Regions from separate parts of the Homo sapiens genome. Here region 2 is linked to region 1. Evidence: promoter capture Hi-C in human tissues and cell types (Jung and others, 2019). All regions are on one chromosome and are shown on one strand. The core of a region is centred on a gene start or on the middle of the fragment in contact, and the rest is flanking DNA. Distances in the headings are between cores, read along the strand shown.

The links. Contacts are between HindIII fragments. The study calls those that stand out against the background at their distance.
Region 2: a fragment that was not itself captured here is called in contact with the fragment with the promoter of HOXC5 in region 1 in 1 of the 25 tissues and cell types used here (neural progenitor cells).

Annotation. Positions count from the first base shown.
Region 1 is chr12:54,030,831-54,035,240 of GRCh38, reverse strand. HOXC5 (homeobox C5) reads right to left here and starts at 2,191. Exons shown (of 2, transcript NM_018953.4): 1 at 1,665-2,191; 2 at 1-963. The coding sequence starts at 2,118. The coding sequence ends at 749. MIR615 (microRNA 615) reads right to left here and starts at 1,291; the gene lies at 1,196-1,291. It also overlaps a transcript of HOXC4 not described here. RefSeq lists a silencer at 1,093-1,152 and enhancers at 1,236-2,387, 2,382-2,676. The HindIII fragment of the contact is 19,535 bases long and covers 1-4,410 here.
Region 2 is chr12:53,683,529-53,687,986 of GRCh38, reverse strand. No RefSeq gene overlaps it. Among named protein-coding and RNA genes, the nearest start is that of ATP5MC2, 9.7 kb to the right of the region's middle. The HindIII fragment of the contact is 7,655 bases long and covers 1-4,458 here.

The DNA.
Region 1 (4,410 bases), core at 942-3,441:
ATGGGACAGCAAAGGGCCTCTAGGACCACTTGCTGGGGTCCAGTGCCAGGAAACCCCACTAGTTGAGCTAGCTAGCAGGCTGGGGCTGCCGGCCTGAGAGGGCATGCAGCAGGCGCAGGCTGGGGAGGTTCCCGGGTTTTGGGGGGAAGAGGTTGTGGAGATAAGGTTTGGAAAGCATAGAGCAACTGTGGGGGCCCTAGGCCGATGCTCTCCTTTCATATGCAAATCATTCATAAGTGAAAATCTAGTTTAGTCGCTACAAGGAAGCACCCCGAGTCTAGGGCCAGACTCTCGCCAGCCTTTGGCTGTCTAACCCGTCCAGCCGGGAACAAAGGAGAGGGCGAGGTTAGAGGGTCCGGCGAGGGTCCTGTGGCGCGGGCCGGGCCCACCTTAACTCGGGAGGGCCGCGCTGAGGCTGGGAGCCGGAGATACGGCCCAGGCCAAGGTTCGTTCTGCGCCAGCCTGTACGCCGCAGCCCTCCGGGGAAGTCCTGCGGAGCTTGCCCTGGGCCCCGGGTACCGAGCTGAGCCGAGCTGAGGGGAGATGGGGCAGCGCCGACAGCCCCGCGGGAACCCTGGGTCGGTAGGGATGCGGAATGCCAAGGAAAAGCGCTTTTGTCTGTGGGGCCCGGGAGCCCAGTGCTCCAGCACCTGCCCCCGACCCGAAATATAGAGAGGAAAGGCGAAAAGGAAAGGCGCAGGGACAGGAACCGGCTAGGGGCGCGCTCTGCGGGCCTCCCCCGCTGCCTCTAAAGAGCCTCTTTGCTTTTCATTTTGGAATCTTTCTTCCACTTCATCCTGCGGTTCTGGAACCAGATCTTGATCTGTCTCTCATTGAGACACAAGTTGTTGGCGATCTCTATGCGCCTGCGGCGAGTGAGGTAGCGGTTAAAGTGGAATTCTTTCTCGAGTTCCAGAGTCTGGTAGCGCGTGTAACTGGTTCGGGACCGCTTGCCGTCCGTCTCTGGAACATAAACCCCACCCCAAGCCAGGAAGGGGTGAATAGCTTGCAGCGTTCCCCCGTCCCCACCCCAGCCCAGGCCCCCACCCGCGGCCGGAGGGAGAGGAGGCGAGAGCCGCAAGACAGGCCACGCGGGCCGCAGGCGGGCCAGCCCAGCCCAGCCCCGGGAGAGGCGCCTCCGCCCAGGCAGGAAACTTTCCACCGCAGCCTTCACTCTGCAGCCGGAGGGGCTGAGGGGGGGTTGGGGGGAAGAGGGAGACCCAGGCTCGGACCGAACAATAAGCACCCTCGAGATCCGAGCACCGGGGACCCCCCTCCCGCCCCTCCCGAGTCGCTGGAATCCTCCGGAGCCGCAAGCGCCGGCGGAGCCGGCTCCGCAGGGGAGGGAGGGAGGGAGCCGCGGGGGGATCCCCGCTCTGGAGCCCCGCGCTCCTCACCCTTCAGATCCCTCTATTTTTTTAACTCCCTCCCTCTCCCCCAAAAATTGAATATTGCCTTTTATACACGTTTTGTTCCTATGATCCAATTATGTCGTCGTAAATTTGGGCGCACACAGCCTCTAAGCCTTTTAGTGGACAGTTTTACGAGCCATTGATGCCTGGATCGTAAAATTTATGGCCGCAGGTTTTTTTTCTTTATTTGCCCCGCATGGCCTATAAAACCCAGGCGGACCCGAGAGCGCAAAATGAAGTCCTAAAGTTTACCGTGGCTCATGTGCAGTTTGGTCATCCACGGGTAAATCTGTGGCGGGGCCGGTGGCTGGCTCAGTCCGGCGGGCTGCCCTGTCTGCGCCTGCTCCTCTTTGATCTCCCCACTGCTCTTAGCTCGCTCCTCCAGCGCCGGGCGAGCCGCCTTCTGACTGTACATCCCGGGGTTCAGAGGAGCCGCTTCGTCTCTGCCCGGAGCGTGTCCCGGAGCGGCCGCGGCGCTGCAGGCGGGGCGGTCGGGGTGAGCCCGGGGGTTGGCAGCCATGTCTACCCCGTGGAGAGAGTTGGAAGGCGCAGGCGGTGGGAAAGTGATGCTTAAGTCCAATCCGCCGTAGCAGTACCTGGATGCCTGCACCTCTGAGGCCGATCCATAGTTCCCACAAGTTTGCATGTTATAGGCAGGGATATTGGGGCTCTGCTTATAGAATGAATTGGCTACGTAGGAGCTCATGGCGGGGAGGGCCCAAAAAAATTTCTGCACCCTTTTTGATTAAGGGTGATTTGTGACTCTTTGAAGTTGAGGGGTTTTTTGTTCTCCAAAGTGGACAATTTATAGGTGGAGATATCTCTTTCTTTATCCTATGCGCTCTTCCCAAATAAGGGAGCCTTAAATAGAGTCACGTGACTCGAGCGGCCACTCATAAATTTGGCTTGATGACCTCCGGGAGGTTAGTGATGGAAGCCGGCGAAAAGCATCTCGATATGTTGGCAAAGCCCAACCAAGGGGGAGAGGGAGTGAGAGAGAGAAAGAGGGAAGGGGGAGGGAAAAAAAAAAAAAGGTTCTTGGAATTGGGGGTAGCCGGGACAACAAGCCCACAGCGACACCTGGTGCCTATGTGGGGGAATTGCATCCTGGAGCGCCAGCTTGCTTTCCGGTGGCTGGATTTCCTACACTGTGAAGGAGAAGCTGGTTGTTGGGGCAACCCCTGAGCTAGCCTTTTAAATTCTATTTAAAATTGGGAAAAGACGAGGCCCCACTTATAACGCACAGAGTGCTTTTTGTAATGAAAGTCCCGTTCTCCCAACCTCCAGGGTCTTCCAATCTTCAAAAATGGCTGAGGAAAGGGGATTAAGTTAGGTAAGGTGGCCTATGCCCAGGCTGGAGAACCAATGGGGTTTAACTTAGGTTCCCTAAACCAAAGGTAGAAGTCCCTTGCCTCTCAGGCCCTAAGGCTCCACTACTGCTGAAGAGGTGCCTATCAGCAAGAGAAAGTAGAATTAGCTTCTGAAGAGGTAGACAGGACGCCCAGGAGGAGGGATCCTGAGTGGTCAGAACAAGATAGGGGGGTCATGAAGCTGAGGGTGTTGCAGGCTGTTTGGGATGGATCTGGAGGTGAGGAGCCAGGTGGAGTTGGCTAGACCTCACCATGCTAGGGTCCCCAGAGTGGCAACAAGGCAATTTTCAAGTGTGTGTGTGGACACGGACAGAGCCAGACAATGGTCTAGAGGACTGCTCTGTTTCCCTGTGTGCGATCCTTATGTGGTACCTATGCCAGAGGTTTTAGACAGAAAATAGATGTTAATTGAGGACATGGAGAAGCAAGATTGAAGCCTCCACAAATATTACGTGAGCATGGCAGAGGAAAAGGCCCGTTATGTGCCCTTTGGGGAAAAGGTCTCTGGGCTAGGCTTTCCAGGGACCTGAATCCATAAGGTTCACAAGAGAGCAATTTCTGAGCTACCAAGAGGAATGGGGCGGACCTGGGGGGTGGGCAGGGCAGGCGCCTGGGTAGCCTTCGCAGGGTATCTGCAGCCATTCGGCCCCATCCTCTTCCCCCGTAGCCCCAAGTCTCATACTTCCCTGCCTGCTTCTTCCCAGGAAATCTCCGCCCCGCCAGGAGAAGGCCCCCTCCTCACTGGTGGAGGCACTGGAGGCGAGGGTGGGGGCGCTGGAGGGAATCTGAAGGGCCCGGAAAACTCTGGCGGATTTTTTCCCTCCGGAGACCCTCCTCAACACCTCTCCCTGTAGGCCCACTCAGGTTTCTCTGGCCAGGCTTGGAGAGAGAAGGCCAGGGTTGATAAATGGTTAGGGTCCGGCTGCGCTCCTCACCCGCCTCTTCACCCGTTTGAGGAGAGAAAAGTAAGGAACCAGCCCGGCTGGAGCTGTAATGAAGAAGGAATTTTGTCCCGGCCACGTCAGGAGTACCAGAGCAGGCGAGAGCTCAGTTTCCAGGCTTTCTCTCTCGAGATGTCCTTGAATCGCTCAATCCCTGCCGACAGGGCTCCAGTCCCGCGGTCTTCTCTTTCCCTCCGCTCTCCGCCTCCGCTACGTTTCGCAACAGCCAGCTTGGCGCGGGCCTGGGGCTTGCTCTCACGGCGCCCCCCGCCTCCAACTCCCGGGAGTGGGTGGAGGAGACCCTGGTGCCTGGATAGTGCTTCTTTACTGGTCTTTCGGGGCGCCTCAGGGTTCGGACGCCGAGGACACCGGCTGCCACAGGCAGGAAGAAAGGCCTGCGTGGGGTTGGTGCCCAAACCGACTGATCCCAGCTCCCCCCGCAACAAAATCCTACGCGGCTTTTTCCCGCAGGGTGTGTGTGTTGCTCCGCGCAGGGAGCCCAGAGAGGCCTCCCAGCCCCTCAGTGCGATCGCGAGAACGAACAGAAGGCCGGGGCCGGGCGCCTGGGCTCCGGGGAAGGCGAGTGCAGAGGGCTGGGGGCTTGCAGGGGGCCGGCAGGCGCGGGAGCGCTTGGAGCCTGCTCCAGCTCTCACCCTGAGGCCGGCGGGCGAGCGAATTAACAGAATT
Region 2 (4,458 bases), core at 881-3,380, 350 kb after region 1:
AGTGAGACCCTGTCTTAACATAAATAAATAAGGGCCGGGCACAGTGGCTCACACCTGTAATTCCAGCACTTTGGGAGGCCGAGGCAGGTGGATCACCTGAGATCAGGAGTTCAAGACGAGCCTAACCAATATGGTGAAACCCCATGTCTACTAAAAATACAAACATTAGCCAGGCATGGTGGCGTGCATCTGTACTCCCAGCTACTTGGGAGACTAAGACAGGAGAATTGCTTGAACCCGGGAGACAGAGATTGCAGTGAGCCAAGATCGCGCCACTGCACTTCAGCCTGGGTAACAGAGCGAGACTCCAACTCAAAAATAAATAAATGAATAAATTAATTAATTTAATTAAATTAAAGGCAGAATACATATGTGTTTGCAACCATGTGTTTCTCTGATTGTGTTTCTAGTCACAAGGAATGGTGTTTGGATTTTCTTTTATTTTGGATTATTCACACCTTTTCTCCCTCTGTCTTAACATGAAAATCAAGAATCAAAACAGTAACCACCTGCTACCCTCAGCAAAACAAACAGATTGTAAAAGCAATTACACCATTACCACTTCTCATTTATCTGCATACAAAATAACTTCCTCTCCCTCTTTCTCCCACGTGGTTCCAGGCTGAGCTGGGATTATTACTGCCTAGATTATTACTGTCTTCTTTATAAATTCCTTTTTCTTAGACTCACTTCTGCCAGATAGCCTTACCAAAAAAAAATCATATTTTTTTCCCCCAGCCTGCATGGTTACTTTAAGGGAAGCATGGTAGTGAGTGGGAAGAAAAACAATGTGAACTAAGTAGCGATTATTAAATACCAGGTGCTTTGCACACATTTGCTTAATTCTCACAATAACGCTGTAAGGTAGTTATTATTATCCCCATTTTACAAGTAAGAAAATGGAGACTCAAAGAGCCTGCTCAGGTTCAAAGAAGAATAAAGAAATATTACAATAGGGATTTGAACTAGCTCTATATCATTTTGGAGTCCATGCCTTTAGACTTGGCCAGAGGGATTTTATCTTTGGTGCTTGTTTTTTTAAAGACGGCCTCATCCTCCTCCAGAAGGAGGATAACTTAAGGCCAAGTGGATATGTCTACCCAGAGCTCATTTCTCCCCACTCCTAGACATGCTCCAGTTACCAGAATCCCCTGTTGAGCAGCCCCTTCCAAGGCCACAGCCCACAGCCTCTTCCTGGGGGCTGATCTCTTGAGAGCACAGACTGAGCTACTGGGGGCACATTCCTAGTCCTGTTGGCCTGTAGTGCAGATGGAGTTTAGATGTATGGCCTTACTGAGCGCACACTTTTGTGTGAGGCCCCTTCGGCAGTGGGACAGAGCCATGAATGGAAAGAGAACATGAGGCAAACAGGGACTTGAAGGAATTCCAGAATTCTAAATATAAACCTTCCAGTTGATATTGATATATTTGTCAAGATAAGAGGGTAGGACATGTTTACTTAATGGTTTATTAGCTTTGATTTATAACTTTTACATATTTAGATATTTGGTATCGGGGCCTAAATTTTTCTCTTGCTGTGAGCCCCACAAATATTAGAGGTGGGCTCACTCATCTCACTACAGCACTCTGATTCTTCTTTCTGCCCTTCCCATTCTGTTCTTCATGGCTAGAAAGCCTCCAGACTTGCCCACCAGCAATTCCCCCTCTTCATTCTCACAGCTTGCCAAATTCACCTTTTCATCAGAAACTTTTCAGCTTATTACAAAAGGGGCTGCTGATTTCTCACCCTTGCCCTTCCATGGTTGCCGTGACTTCTGCTATTCTCCACCTAAAGAGGATGTAACTAACTTACATTGCATACTTGTAGTCATTTTTTTTTTCTTTTTGAGACAAGGTCTCACTCTGTCACCCAGGCTGGAGTGCAATGGCGCAATCTTGGCTCACTGCAACCTCCGCCTCCCGGGTTCAAGAGATTCTCCTGCCTCAGCCTCCTAAGTAGCTGGGATTACAGGCATGAGCCACCACTCCCAGCTCATTTTTGTACTTTTAGTAGAGACAGGATTTCATCATGTTGGCCAGGCTGGTCTCGAACTCCTGTCCTCAAGTGATCCACCCACCTCGGCCTTCCAAAGTGCTGGGATTACAGGCGTGAGCCACCGCACCCGGCCACCTGTAGTCATTTTACTGTCTGTCCTGCCACTCTTCTGTCCTGTATGTCTAGGAGTCTTCAGGCTGCTTATAGTACCCAACAGTGGCTCCCTTGAGCTACAACCCTGTTTTAGCCTCTATGGAGAGAGATTGTGGAAGATTCTTGCTCTCTGATGAGCTTTAATCAAATACACAAGGGCCTAGTGAGTCAGGTAAGTTTGGCAAAATAAGAACAGAACCAGGGGTATCTAGAGAGAAGTTTCCATTTCATTTAGTGGGAAGAAAGTAGAGGGAATAGAACCCAAAGAAAAGGTTAAACCAATGCTGGGTAATTGGGTACAGGACCAAGTTTAGAGGAAGGTTAGCCTTAGGGGTAGGCTCCTAGGTTGTAAAGCCTGGCGGGGGTGGTTCCTAGAATGTGGAGATGGATTAGGCTTGGGAGAGAGTCACAGAATGGCACCACTCGGTAACCCAGGCCAGAAAACTGAGCGCCATCTTCACCTCTCCCTTCTCCTTTATCTCATACACCAGTCAATCACTGAGGCCTGTAAGGTCTTCCTTCGAAAGCTCTCTGAGCTCCTCCTACTCCTCACCATCCCCACTATCACCCCCAAGCTCAAGGCACCCTGTTCTCCCACCTGGATTTCGACAACAGCCTCCTTTTTGCTCTCTGTGCTGCCAGGCCTGCCCTTTCTCATCAGTCCTCCACACTAGAGCTAGAATGATCTTTTTTAAATGCACACTTGAGCCTCTCACTCTCTTGCTTAAATGACTCCTTGTTGCTTTCTGGATGAAATCCAAATGCCTTAGCTCGATGTTCAAGATCCTTCAGGATCTAGCCACCACCAACTAGTCTCATCTCTCTGTATCCTGCCACACCACAACTGTTCATTCTGGCCACATTGAATTACTTGCCCTCTGTTGAAAAGATCACTTAATCCCTCACTTCCAAGCCTTTGTACATATTGCCCCTACTCCGTGGAACATCCTTTCAGTCCCTCCCTATACAGTTTTTTTAGGCATCTCAGAAATGTCACCCCCTTCTGGAGGCCTTCCTTGACTACCCCTTCTCAGCACTGTGATGCATGTCCGTCCTATGTATTTCCATAGCACCCACTGCTTACCCTTTTTATAATACTATTGTTCTGTGTTGAAATTATTTGCCTTTTATTTAATAATCCTGTGTATCCCCTGTTAGACTATAAAGTTGTTAAGGGCAAGGACTCTATCTTATGCACTGTTTAATCATTCACAAAATTTCTGTTGAGAGCCTAGTATGTGCCAGGTACTGTTCTAAATGCTGGGGATACAGTGATGAACAACGTCCCTGCCTTAGGGAAGCTTATCTTCTAATGGGGTAAAAGCGATAAAAAATAAAAATAGTTCAGTGGGGTGGCTTAAGCCTGTAATCCCAGCACTTTGGGAGGCCGAGGTGGGCAAATCATCTGAGGTCAGGAGTTCGAGACCATCCTGGCTAACGTGGTGAAACCCCATCCCTACTAAAAATACAAAATTAGCCGGGCATGGTGGTGCATGCTGTAATCCCAGCTTCTCAGCTGAGGCTCGAGAATCACTTGACCCCAGGAGGCGGAGGTTGCAGTGAGTTGAGATCGTGCCGTTACACTCCAGCCTGGGCAACGAGAGCAAAACTCCATCTCAAAAATAAATAAATAAATAAATAAATAAATAAATAAATAAAATTTAAAAAAATACATAAGTGCTAAAAAGAAAAATAAGGAAATATAAAGGGATAAAGAAGAGAGGGTGATGGCTATTTAGAGAGAGTGGTCAGGAAAGGCGTCTCTGAGGAGACGATATCAGAGACGAGGCCTAAATGAAATGAGAGAGCCAGCCAAGGCATAATCTGGGGGAAGAAGGTTCCAGGAAGAGGGAATAGCAAGGGTCCTGAGTGAGAAAATCTTTGCTGTATCTGAAGTTCAGTAAGAGCCTATTATAGCTGGACCCTTGAATTTTGTCTACAAGTACTATAAAACTATTAGAAGGTTTTAAGTAGCAAGATCCAATCTATATTTTCCTTTTTTTTTCTTTATTTTTTATTTTTTAGAGGCAGAGTCTTGCTTTGTTACCCAGGCTGGAGTGCAGTAATGCAATCATAGCTCACCACAGCCTCAAACTCATGGGCTCGAGCTGATCTACATTTTAAAAGACCAGTTTAGCTACTCACTGTGTGGAGTGTAGACTGTGGCCAGGCCAAACCGGAATCAAGGAGATCAGCTAGGAAGTATTGTAGTGAACCAGCAAGAGATGTCAGTGGCTTGGACCAAGTTAGATTTTGGAAGTGGTAAGGAATAGGCAAATGTGGGAGATATTTGTATTCTCAATGTTTAG